Regions from separate parts of the Homo sapiens genome. Here region 2 is linked to region 1. Evidence: promoter capture Hi-C in human tissues and cell types (Jung and others, 2019). All regions are on one chromosome and are shown on one strand. The core of a region is centred on a gene start or on the middle of the fragment in contact, and the rest is flanking DNA. Distances in the headings are between cores, read along the strand shown. Region 1 holds the start of SRGN (serglycin). Region 2 overlaps TSPAN15 (tetraspanin 15).

The links. The method cuts DNA at HindIII sites, captures the fragments that hold promoters and counts their contacts. A contact is called where the count stands out against the background at its distance.
Region 2: a fragment that was not itself captured here is called in contact with the fragment with the promoter of SRGN in region 1 in 1 of the 25 tissues and cell types used here (liver).

What each region holds. Positions count from the first base shown.
Region 1 is chr10:69,084,491-69,089,416 of GRCh38, forward strand. SRGN (serglycin) reads left to right here and starts at 3,613. Exons shown (of 3, transcript NM_002727.4): 1 at 3,613-3,746. The coding sequence starts at 3,668. RefSeq lists enhancers at 1,927-2,096, 3,744-4,926. The HindIII fragment of the contact is 28,080 bases long and covers 1-4,926 here.
Region 2 is chr10:69,489,009-69,494,005 of GRCh38, forward strand. All of the region lies in intron 3 of TSPAN15 (tetraspanin 15), which reads left to right. Among named protein-coding and RNA genes, the nearest start is that of TSPAN15, 40 kb to the left of the region's middle. RefSeq lists a silencer at 1-151. The HindIII fragment of the contact is 4,239 bases long and covers 1-3,495 here.

The DNA of each region.
Region 1 (4,926 bases), core at 2,363-4,862:
GTCCTTCAAGCCTCTAGAGACATACAGATTTGGTGCAGTATCTATTTACTGGTTTTTGTTTGTTTGTTTGTTTGTTTTGTTTTTTTGGTGCAGTGCCCAGTTCAGAGTCAAGACCCTCTCAATGAAGAGCCAAGCAAAAGTCCTAGAGGCTGCTGGTGGCGGAATCTTTAACCTGGAGCTTTAGGAAAGAAATAGGCCTTGGAGCTTCCCCTTTGTGCAGTTTCATGGTGCCCTCTGTATCTCTTCTCATAACCTCAATTTATCATTTTTTTTTTCTTTTTTTGAGATGGAGTCTTGCTCTGTCACCCAAGCTGGAGTGCAATGGCATGATCTCTGCTCACTGCAACCTCTGCCTCCCAGGTTCAAGCAATTCTCCTGCCTCAGCCTCCTGAGTAGCTGGTATTAGAGGTGCCCGCCATCATGTCCAGATAATTTTTTTGTATTTTTAGTAGAGACAGGGTTTCACCATGTTATCCAGGCTAGTCTCAAACTCCTGACCTTAGGTGAGTGATCCGCCCACCTTGGCCTCCCAAAGTGCTGGTGTGAGCCACCCTGCCCTGCCGGCGACCCGTCACTTTATTAAACAACAGGAACTGATTTCTGTCATGTTCCAGGTGACTGTTAAGGAATAAGAATACTCATTTTATGGGCAAATAAACTGAATGTGAAGTAAAGTAGGTGCATCTCAGGTTGCCTGGTGAAAGAAGGATTAAGTCTGGTATAGGGTTTGTCTTTTAAAATTGTGGAAAACATGCATATCGTAGATTGACTTTTAGGGAAAGATGTGGGTCCTATTGGGTTAATGGCGGAATCTTTTGGTAAGATCATGCCCAGCCCTGAGGACTGTTGCCAATGCCTCCCTCACCACGTGTGCCATGTGCTCTTGAGGACATCCTGTCATTGGCTTCCCACACCATCATTACATCTGGAACAAAGGACGCATAAAAAGTGAGTGGCCCAGCGTGGCTCAGCTGGTAAGTGAAGGGCATGGGCTTGGACCCAGGACTTCCAGCTGCTGCAGCATGTGTCCTGCTCCCCTACAGCTTGAAGAGGGCTAAATGAGACTGGAGGACTTCTTAGAAAAAGAGACTTGATTATCAGCGTAGTGGGAGAAGAGCAAATGCTTATGAATACTGCACCTGTGCTTTAAAAGTCACCATGAGCTGGGCGTTGTGGCTTACGTCTGTAATCCCAGCACTTTGGGAGGCCGAGACAGGTGGATCACTTGAGGTCAGGAGTTCGAGGGCAGCTTGGCCAACATGACAAAAACCCCATCTGTACTAAAAAAAAGAAAAGAAAAGAAAAGAAAAGAAAGAAAGAAAAAAAATTAGTCAAATGCGTTTGCTTGAACCCAGGAGGTGGAGGTACACCCTGGGCGACAGAGAGAGAGAGGTAAAAAACAACAACAACACCATGACCCAGAGAAAGAAAGAAAAAAAATGAAGTTCCCAAATGGAAAAAGCCCCTAAAATTACCATTTTAAAACACAGCCCTAATCAGCTCTGGGGATTTGCAGGAAACTCATCGAAGCTATTGATAGGAACTATTGTTTTGGTGCCAGGGTTTTCAATTGGGAGTTAGATTTAAAAGGACCAAAGATGACATCTGATATTTCAAACAGAAACCGACATTTCTCAGTGGAAAACTTTCCGGGCCAGTGCATTTTGGGGTTGGTTACTGTGCTTGGAGACGCCCCTGAGTTGGAGGACACACTTCTGGCTGATGTGAGGGGCTTCTGAGGAGGGCCAAAATGTACACTCTTTGTGTTCTTGCACCACGGCTATTAGACTGTGAGACTCTGTCCTTAGCAGGAAATGGTAAAGGAATCAGCAGGAAGCCTAAAACAAGGGAAGGGAAACTCCTCCCTCCTATCAAAGGCCAGGCAAGGGCGAGGATGAGAATGGAAAGTGGGGCACGTGCATTAAGCCGTCTGGGGGAGCGGTAGGGATAGACATGTTGAAATGGAGAGTGGTTGAATCTTGAAAGGAAGTAAGGAAAATGTATATGCCACAAGGGCAAGGATGTATGATAGGCTTGTATTTATTGTATAACTTTATTTTATTTTATTTTATTATTTTTAGTTTTTTGAAATAGAGTCTCTCTCTGTCACCCAGGCTGGAGTGCAATGGCACGATCTTGGCTCACTGCAACCTCTGCCTCCCGGGTTCAAGCGATTCTCCTACCCCAGCCTCCCGAGTAGCTGGGACTACAGGCACTCGCCACCACGCCCGGCTAATTTTTTGTATTTTTAGTGGAGACGGGGTTTCACGGTGTTAGCCAGGATGGTCTCGATCTCCTGACCTTGTGATCCACCCACCTCAGCCTCCCAAAGTGCTGGGATTACAGGTGTGGACCACAGCACCTGGCCTTTATTGTATAACTTTAATATGGAGCCTTAGTCCTCCAGAAATCTGCACCATGCCCAGGGAAAATGCTGTTCCTTTATTTACATGAGGCAGAGGTTTGTGTTGTTTGCTGAGGTCCAGCAGCTCACTGTGAGGACAACCTCTCCCTCGTTCCTGATTTCTGGCTTATTCAAGGCCAGAGGACCCAAAACTCGAGTTGAAAATTTTGACTAGGAGAACAGATAAAAATAGAAATGGAATCCATCTTAAGAAATGCTCAATGTGAAGGAGAGGGGAATGCAAAATAGTTTTTCTGTTTTACCACAGTCTTTGTAACTGAAAATCCTATGTTCTTGAGATAGAGAGAGAGCCAATGATCCAATGCAAGAAACTGAGTTTAAGAAGAAACTGTTTGCTGGGCACGGTGGCTCACGCCTGTAATCCCAGCACTTTGGGAGGCTGAGGCAGGCGGATGGCCTGAGGTTGGGAGTTTGAGGCCAGCCTGGCCAACATGGTGACACGTCGTCTCTACTAAAAATACAAAATTAGTCCAGCGCAGTGGTGTACGCCTGTAATCCCAGCTACTCAGGAGGCTGAGGCAGGAGAATTGCTTGAACCCTGGAGATGGAGGTTGCAGTGAGCTGAGATCGCGCCACTGCTCTCCAGCCTGGGTGACAGAGTGAGACTCCATCTCAAAAAAAAAAAAAAAAAAAAAAAAAAGAAGAAAAAGAAGAAGAAGAAACTGTTCATCTGAAATCCGACAACTCATTCTTGAAGGTTAGAGCTCAGCTTTGAAGTTTCACTTCACGAGCTTGGCTCAGTGAGGTATGTTACTCCCCGGTGAAAAAGAAAATGAAGAGAATGTTTTATGTTGAAAGTGCTTGGTGACGAAAAGGCAGCACCTAGATCCCTTATCTCATAAAAAATGCAGCAGATTCTTAATATTAGCAATCTAGTGTTTAGATTGTTACCTGAAGAAAGGAAAAACAAACTGTCCCAAATGCTGATTCTACTGTTTCGGTGGGAAAAAAAAATGTCTTGCAGGCAAGTGGCAAACAACAAAACTTTTGAAAAAGCAGGCCTGGGGGGAGTCCAGTACAGTTTCATAATGGGTATGAATAGTTATTTTACTGTGTTCCCCCCACCCCCTTTCTTTCTGGGTTTTGATGTGGATGTCTTTCTATTTGTTCAGGAAATTGTGACGTGTGTTCTGGGCAGGGTTTGAGGTTTTGGAACATTTTCTAAAAGGGACAGAGAGCACCCTGCTACATTTCCTAATCAAGAAGTTGGCGTGCAGCTGGGAGAGCTAGACTAAGTTGGTCATGATGCAGAAGCTACTCAAATGCAGTCGGCTTGTCCTGGCTCTTGCCCTCATCCTGGTTCTGGAATCCTCAGTTCAAGGTAAGACTCAGGAGTCTTGTTCCCCAGCCATCTTCTCTGTAAGCCCTGTGGTCCATGCAAGTCATTATATTCATTTTAAGGCATAGAATGTATAATATTGTGAGAAAGGAGGCAAAGAAGAAGGATTTGGGGTCGCTGAACCCTTTAATATGAGTTCTGTTAAGTTTGGTACCAAGAAAAATTAAACTCTGTGGCGTGTGCAGTCTTGTAAACTCTTACAATGATTGAAATGTGCTATTTTGGGATGAAAATGTGAGGTTTATAAATTTTAAAAGCTCAAAAAAGGAATCTAGAAAATGACTCCTGTGCCTGTTGCATGGAGGAGATGGCACCTTTGACTGTTGGGGGGTGTCTGCCTACCCCTAAGTGTCTACATCAGCCCCAAGTTTTAGTGCGCTGTGACGGTGTCATTGTTATTTTAACACTGGGAGACGTTATATTCCAATTGGGGTGAATCTGACTGTGTGTATTTTCTTTTCTTTTTTTTTTTTTTAAAGATAAACTTGGTTCTTACTGAAAACTCAATTATGGTTAGACATAGTTCATGTAAAACCTCTCAGATTTTAAAGAGAAGGCCAAATAATTTGGTATTTGTGCTCTTGCTCAGAGAAGCATCATATTCGGAAATATCTTCCTAGGTTTATCTACCATTTAGTGTTGTTTAGTCAGACTGAAACAACTTAAAACCTGTAATGACTAAGACAATGAAAATGATAGGCTTGTAAGAAAAATACAATTTGTTATTCTTTGGCAAATAAGGAATCATGTCTAAATAAGACGGAGGTCATGGCTTGATAGAGAGATGGCTGAACCTATAGTAGAAAAACACTAGGTTCCGCCAAATGGTAAGGGAAATGTTGAGTCACAATGACACACATGTCCTAGATTTGTTTCGTCAAAGCGACTTTTGGTTGTCATGATCTTACTTCCGGTGGAGATGAAATCTTACAGATGATCGCAGAGACATTCATTTTATGTTGGAAATTTATAAAATCATTTTCTTCTAGTTATGCTAATGCTGAAAAAAGAGCAAGTAATGTTTCTGGAACGTTATTAATTTATGTATTTTTAAAATATAAAACATTGTCAATTGTAGGGAACAGGCTTCACTGGGATCTTTTAGGGAATATCTTCAGCTTGATGAAATAATTCCCGAATAGCCAAGTGGTCTGACAAGATC
Region 2 (4,997 bases), core at 126-2,625, 400 kb after region 1:
TCCCAATCCTGAGGGTACTGCAGGAGACCAGGGTGTATTTCAGTCCTTATCTCAACTGCATAAGAGAGACACTCCCAGAGCGGCCGTTTATAGACCTCCCCCTAGGAATGCAGTTCTTTTCCCAGAGTGTTAATATCAATATTCCTTGCTAGGAAAAGAATTTAGCGATATCTTCCCTACTTGCATGTCCGTTTATAGGCTGTCTGCAAGAAGAAAAATATGGCTCTTTTTGCCCAACCCCGCAGGCAGTCAGACCTTATGGTTGTCTTCCCTTGTTCCCTGAAAATCGCTGTTATTCTGTTCTTTTTCAAGGTGCACTGATTTCATATTGTTCAAACACACATGTTTTAAAATCAACTTGTACAGTTAACACAATTATCGTAGTGGCCGTAAGGTGACATACATCCCCAGCTTACGAAGATAACAGGATTAAGAGATTAAAGTAAGACAGGTGTAAGAAATTATGAAGTATTATTTGGGAACTGGTAAATGTCCATGAAATCGTCACAATTTATGTTCCTCTGCTGTGGCTGCAGCTGGTCCCTCCATTTGGGGTCCCTGACTTCCCGCAACAATTAGGCTAAGGATTACATGTTGGGTTCTCAGCGAGGTGCACAGACCACGGCCACAGCCAGGCATTGAAAGCTAAACAGACTCCTGGATATAAGGAGGAAACTCCCCCTGGCTCTGACCCCAGGCAAGATTTCTGCTGCTAGGCATGGCCTGACAGTCGGACTGGTGCCGCTTCTCCACTCATAGAGGGGCAAGTGGCCATGCACTGGGGAGCTGGGCACAGAGCAGCCCTTAGGAGCAGGAGAAGTACGACACCCCTGACCCCAGCCAGGGGCTGGAGGAGGACCTGAGTGACTTCCCCAGTTGTGTGGGTCTCAACCCTCTTGACACCTGCTTTTGTCCCAGCTTGTTCTGGGGCTTCTTGTGAGGGTGTCAGGTGTCAGAGGTGGGCAGCTCCTCATGCTTCCAGCCAGGTGCAGCTGAGCTTGGACACCTGGAGGGTCCGGGCAGTAGCGGGTGTGTCTATACCCCCATCCCAGGCCTCCTCTCTCTACCACCAGGGTAGGATCAGTGGGCATTGTGGTCCTACCTGACACTGTGGTCAGGGAACAGTGGGGAGCACCAGCCTGCCTATTTTATCATGGCACTGGCACAAGCTGGCTCTGGGCACAACCTTGAGGTCAGAGGCAGGAGAAAGTAGGCAGCACCATGGCTCTCTCGGCCAACACCTGAATATATAAAGTTTTCCCTTGGTGTCCGACGGGGATTGGTTCCAGAACATGCCCCTGACCAAAGGATACCCAAATCCACACATGCTCAAGTCCTTTATATAAAATGGTGTAGTACTTGAATATAACCTACACACATCCTCCTGTAAATTGCAACACTCCTAGATTACTTGCAAATACCTAATACAGGGCCAGGTGCGGTGGCTCATGCTTGTAATCCCAGCACTTTGGGAGGCCAAGGCAGGTGGATCATTTGAGGTCAGGAGTTTGAGAACAGCCTGGCCAACACAGTGAAATCCTGTCTCTAGTAAAAATACAAAAAGTAGCTAGGCGTGGTAGTGGGCATCTGTAATCCCAGCTACTAGGGAGGCTGAGGCAGGAGAATTGCTTCAACCCAGGAGGCAGAGGCTGCAGTGAGCCATGATCGTGCTACTGCACTCCATCCAGCCTGGGTGACAGAGCAAGATTCTGTCTCAAACAAAACAAAACAAAACAAAAAACCCAGATACCTAATACATTGTAAATGCTGTGTAGATAGTTGTTTATGCTGTATTGTTCTTTAGTTTGTATCATTTTTTACTGTTGTGTTATTTTTTATTGTTCCTTTTCCCAAATATTTTCCATCCACTGTTGTTTGAATCTGCGGGTACGGAACCCGTGGATGTGGAGGGCCGGCTGTGTATCCTTCCCACTTACAGCAGAGCGGTCGGCCTTACAGAAGTAGAGAGTGCTTCTCGCTGGTTTGGCCAGACTCCCCCACGGGTGTGCCCCACTGTGGAAAGCTGTCAGGGAGTGAGGCTGGAGCCCCCAGTCCCAAGGACACTGAAACATAACCCTCTCCCACCATGGAGATGAACCTGTGACCCTGGCCAGGTCTGAGGAAGGGTCTGGCAGATGCTCACTCCACACGCCCCTTCCCACCTTCTCCTGGTCCCCTGGGTTCTCTTCCATTCCTGATTGTCACATTGGGCTTCTATTGGGACTGGAGCAGAGGCTAGGGTCCGGGGGCAATGAGGGTAAGTCCCCGTTCTAGAGGGACTGGGAAAGGCTGAGATGATGGCTTGGCTCCAGGCGCAAATGAAGGAGGAAAATCCTGGGCCAAGCACCTCTCCTCCAAGTTTTTGTTTTGTTTTTGAGACAGTCTTGCTCTGTCACCCAGGCCGGAGTGCAGTGGTGCAATCACAGCTCATTGCAGCCTCAGCTCCTAGGCTCAAGCGATCCTCCCACCTTAGCCTCCTGAGTAGTTGGGACTACAGGTGCATGCCACCATGCCTGGATAATTGTGTGTGTTTGTGTGTAGATGAGGTCAAGCCATGTTGCCCAGGTTGGTCTCGAACTCCTGGACTCAAGTAATCCTCCTGCCTTGGCATCCCAAAGTACTGGGATTATAGGCAGGGACCACCATGACCAGCTTCTCCTCCAAGTTTGAGAGCTAGGCCTGCACTAGGCCAGCAGCAGGGCCTTCCCAGCCTCAGGTCTCAGGCTTACATGGAAGTGGTGTTAGCCAGAGGCAGCCTGAGGGAGCCCCGGGCCACTCCTTCCCCAGAGAGGTTCTTGGTCCTGTGCAGGCAGCTGGCCTGGTAGGAAGCTTTAGCGGCCGCCCCTTCCACTCCTTTTCCTACCCCTCTGTCCTCTGTGTTGGAGGAGCTGCCGCCACATGCCTCACCCCCTTCAGTTCCTCATTCATTTAAAAACCCTGAGAGAGGGGTGATGTGGAGGCTTCAGATAAAAACTAGATTTAAAAGGCAAAGCTAGAAAGGATAGTTCTTCATAGCTTTCTCTGGTGCTTTAAACAACATGCTTTCAAACCTTGTGGCTTTTGATGTTTGCTTACTCTTTGCTTAATTTAGCCTGGTTTTCTAGTCCTCACTGGAGCTGCCCCTGCTGGCATGGCCTGGTTTGGAGGGGAATGGGGTGGGGGCAGTGGCACTGGGTATGTTGGGCATCTGGGAATGGCAGAGGAAGCTAGAATTCTCTCTTCCCTGTCCTCTGAGTGGCTCCCCTGGTCTCTCGGAACATTACCAGTGCTGTCAACGGCGGCATAGCACTTTACAGTTAAACTGCACAGCCAGCTTGCCTCACGGGATCTTCTCACACACACCCACCCCCAACCATCGCCCCTCACAGCACAGGAACCATCTCAGTGTCCTCGTCTCCCCGGTACACATACACACGTGCACACACATACAAGTGGTGCACACTTGCAAGAACCAGCATGCCTCAAAGAGCTCCCTGATGGGGGTTGGGGGCAGCTGCTGTCCATGAAGCCCAGGGACATCTGTTGCTCCTGCAGGGCCCCCCTTCCCCCAACAACAGGGCTCAGCTTACCAGATGAAAGGCCGAATTTTTCCAGGCCCCTCTCGAAGCCCGAGCCTTGGAAAGTGCCCAGGAGGCGGGATGGTTTGGGGAGGCGGGATGGTTTGGGGAGGCAGGCTGGGGCTGCTCACCAGAGAGGCAGAGCCTTTCCCCACAGCCACAGAGCAGCCTCTACTCTGCCACTTCCCCTCCTTCCTGCCCTGGGCTTCCCACCTTCATCCCACCCTGTTGGCAGCCCTGGGAGAGTCCAAACAGCACAGTGGCCAGTGGGGGTGCTGTAAGTGGGCCAGTGGGCCCGGGTAGGTGCAGAGGGACATGGTGGGCCAGGACTGTGTCTGTGGTGCCTTGAGAGTAGGGGGAAGCCACCCGGGAGGAACCTCCCCACGTGTGGCCTTAGGCAAGGCCCTGACCCTGGCGGCACCCCATGAGTACGTAGCTCAGCCAATCATGTCGTTCAGTGCTGTAAGCTCATTCCCCTGCCCCACCCTGGGTGGCAGACTGGCCCCACCCTGGTATCCTGTTTTTTAGGCACCCCCAACCACACCCCAGCCAGCTGGCCTGTCCCTTCATCACCCAGAGGAGCAGGCACCCAAGGATGGAAAAGCTTTGTGACCTGGGGGCCTCTGGGAGGTGGGCCTGGGGCCAAGAGAGTCCTTGTTCTGCCCAGGCTGCTCGGCTGGAAGGCAATGCTCCCACCCAACTTCTGCCCCGGGGGCCAGTGCCAGGTCCGCGAAGGGCCATGGGCTGGTGAGTTGACAGCTGCTCACAGGAGCCTGCATCTCCTCTCTTCTCTTGGGGCTGACTCCAGTCTTCTGCAATCCCAGGCCTGCTCCAGAGCTGCTGTTTATCATCAGCAGAGGACTTTCCTTCTGGCCACGAAGGCCAGTTTCTCCGAGCCCATCTCCTTTTTTTTTTTTTTTTTTTTGAGACAGAGTCTTGCTCTGTCACCCAGTCTAGAGTGCAGTGGTGCCATCTCGGCTCACTGCAACCTCTGCCTCCCAGGTTCAAGCGATTCTCCTGCCTCAGCCTCCCGAGTAGCTGGGACTACAGGCGCACGCTGCCACGCCTGGCTAATTTTTTGTATTTTTAGTAGAGACGGGGTTTCACCGAGTTAGCCAGGATGGTCTTGATCTCCTGACCTTGTGATCCGCCTGCCTTGGCCTCCCAAAGTGCTGGGATTACAGGCGTGAGCCACTGCGCCAGGCCGCCCTGCTAATTTTTGTATTTTCAGTGGAGGCAGGGTTTCATCATATTGGTCAGGCTGGTCTCGAACTCCTGACCTCAGGTGATCTGCCCACCTCGGCCTCCCAAAGTGCTGGGATTACAGGCATGAGCCACCGCGCCAGGCCTCCATCTCCTTCTTTACCTTGGCTTTGAGCAGAGCGAGGCTCGGGGAGGAGGTGGGTGCTGCAGTCTTTGTTCCTCTTTTCCTGATCCTGG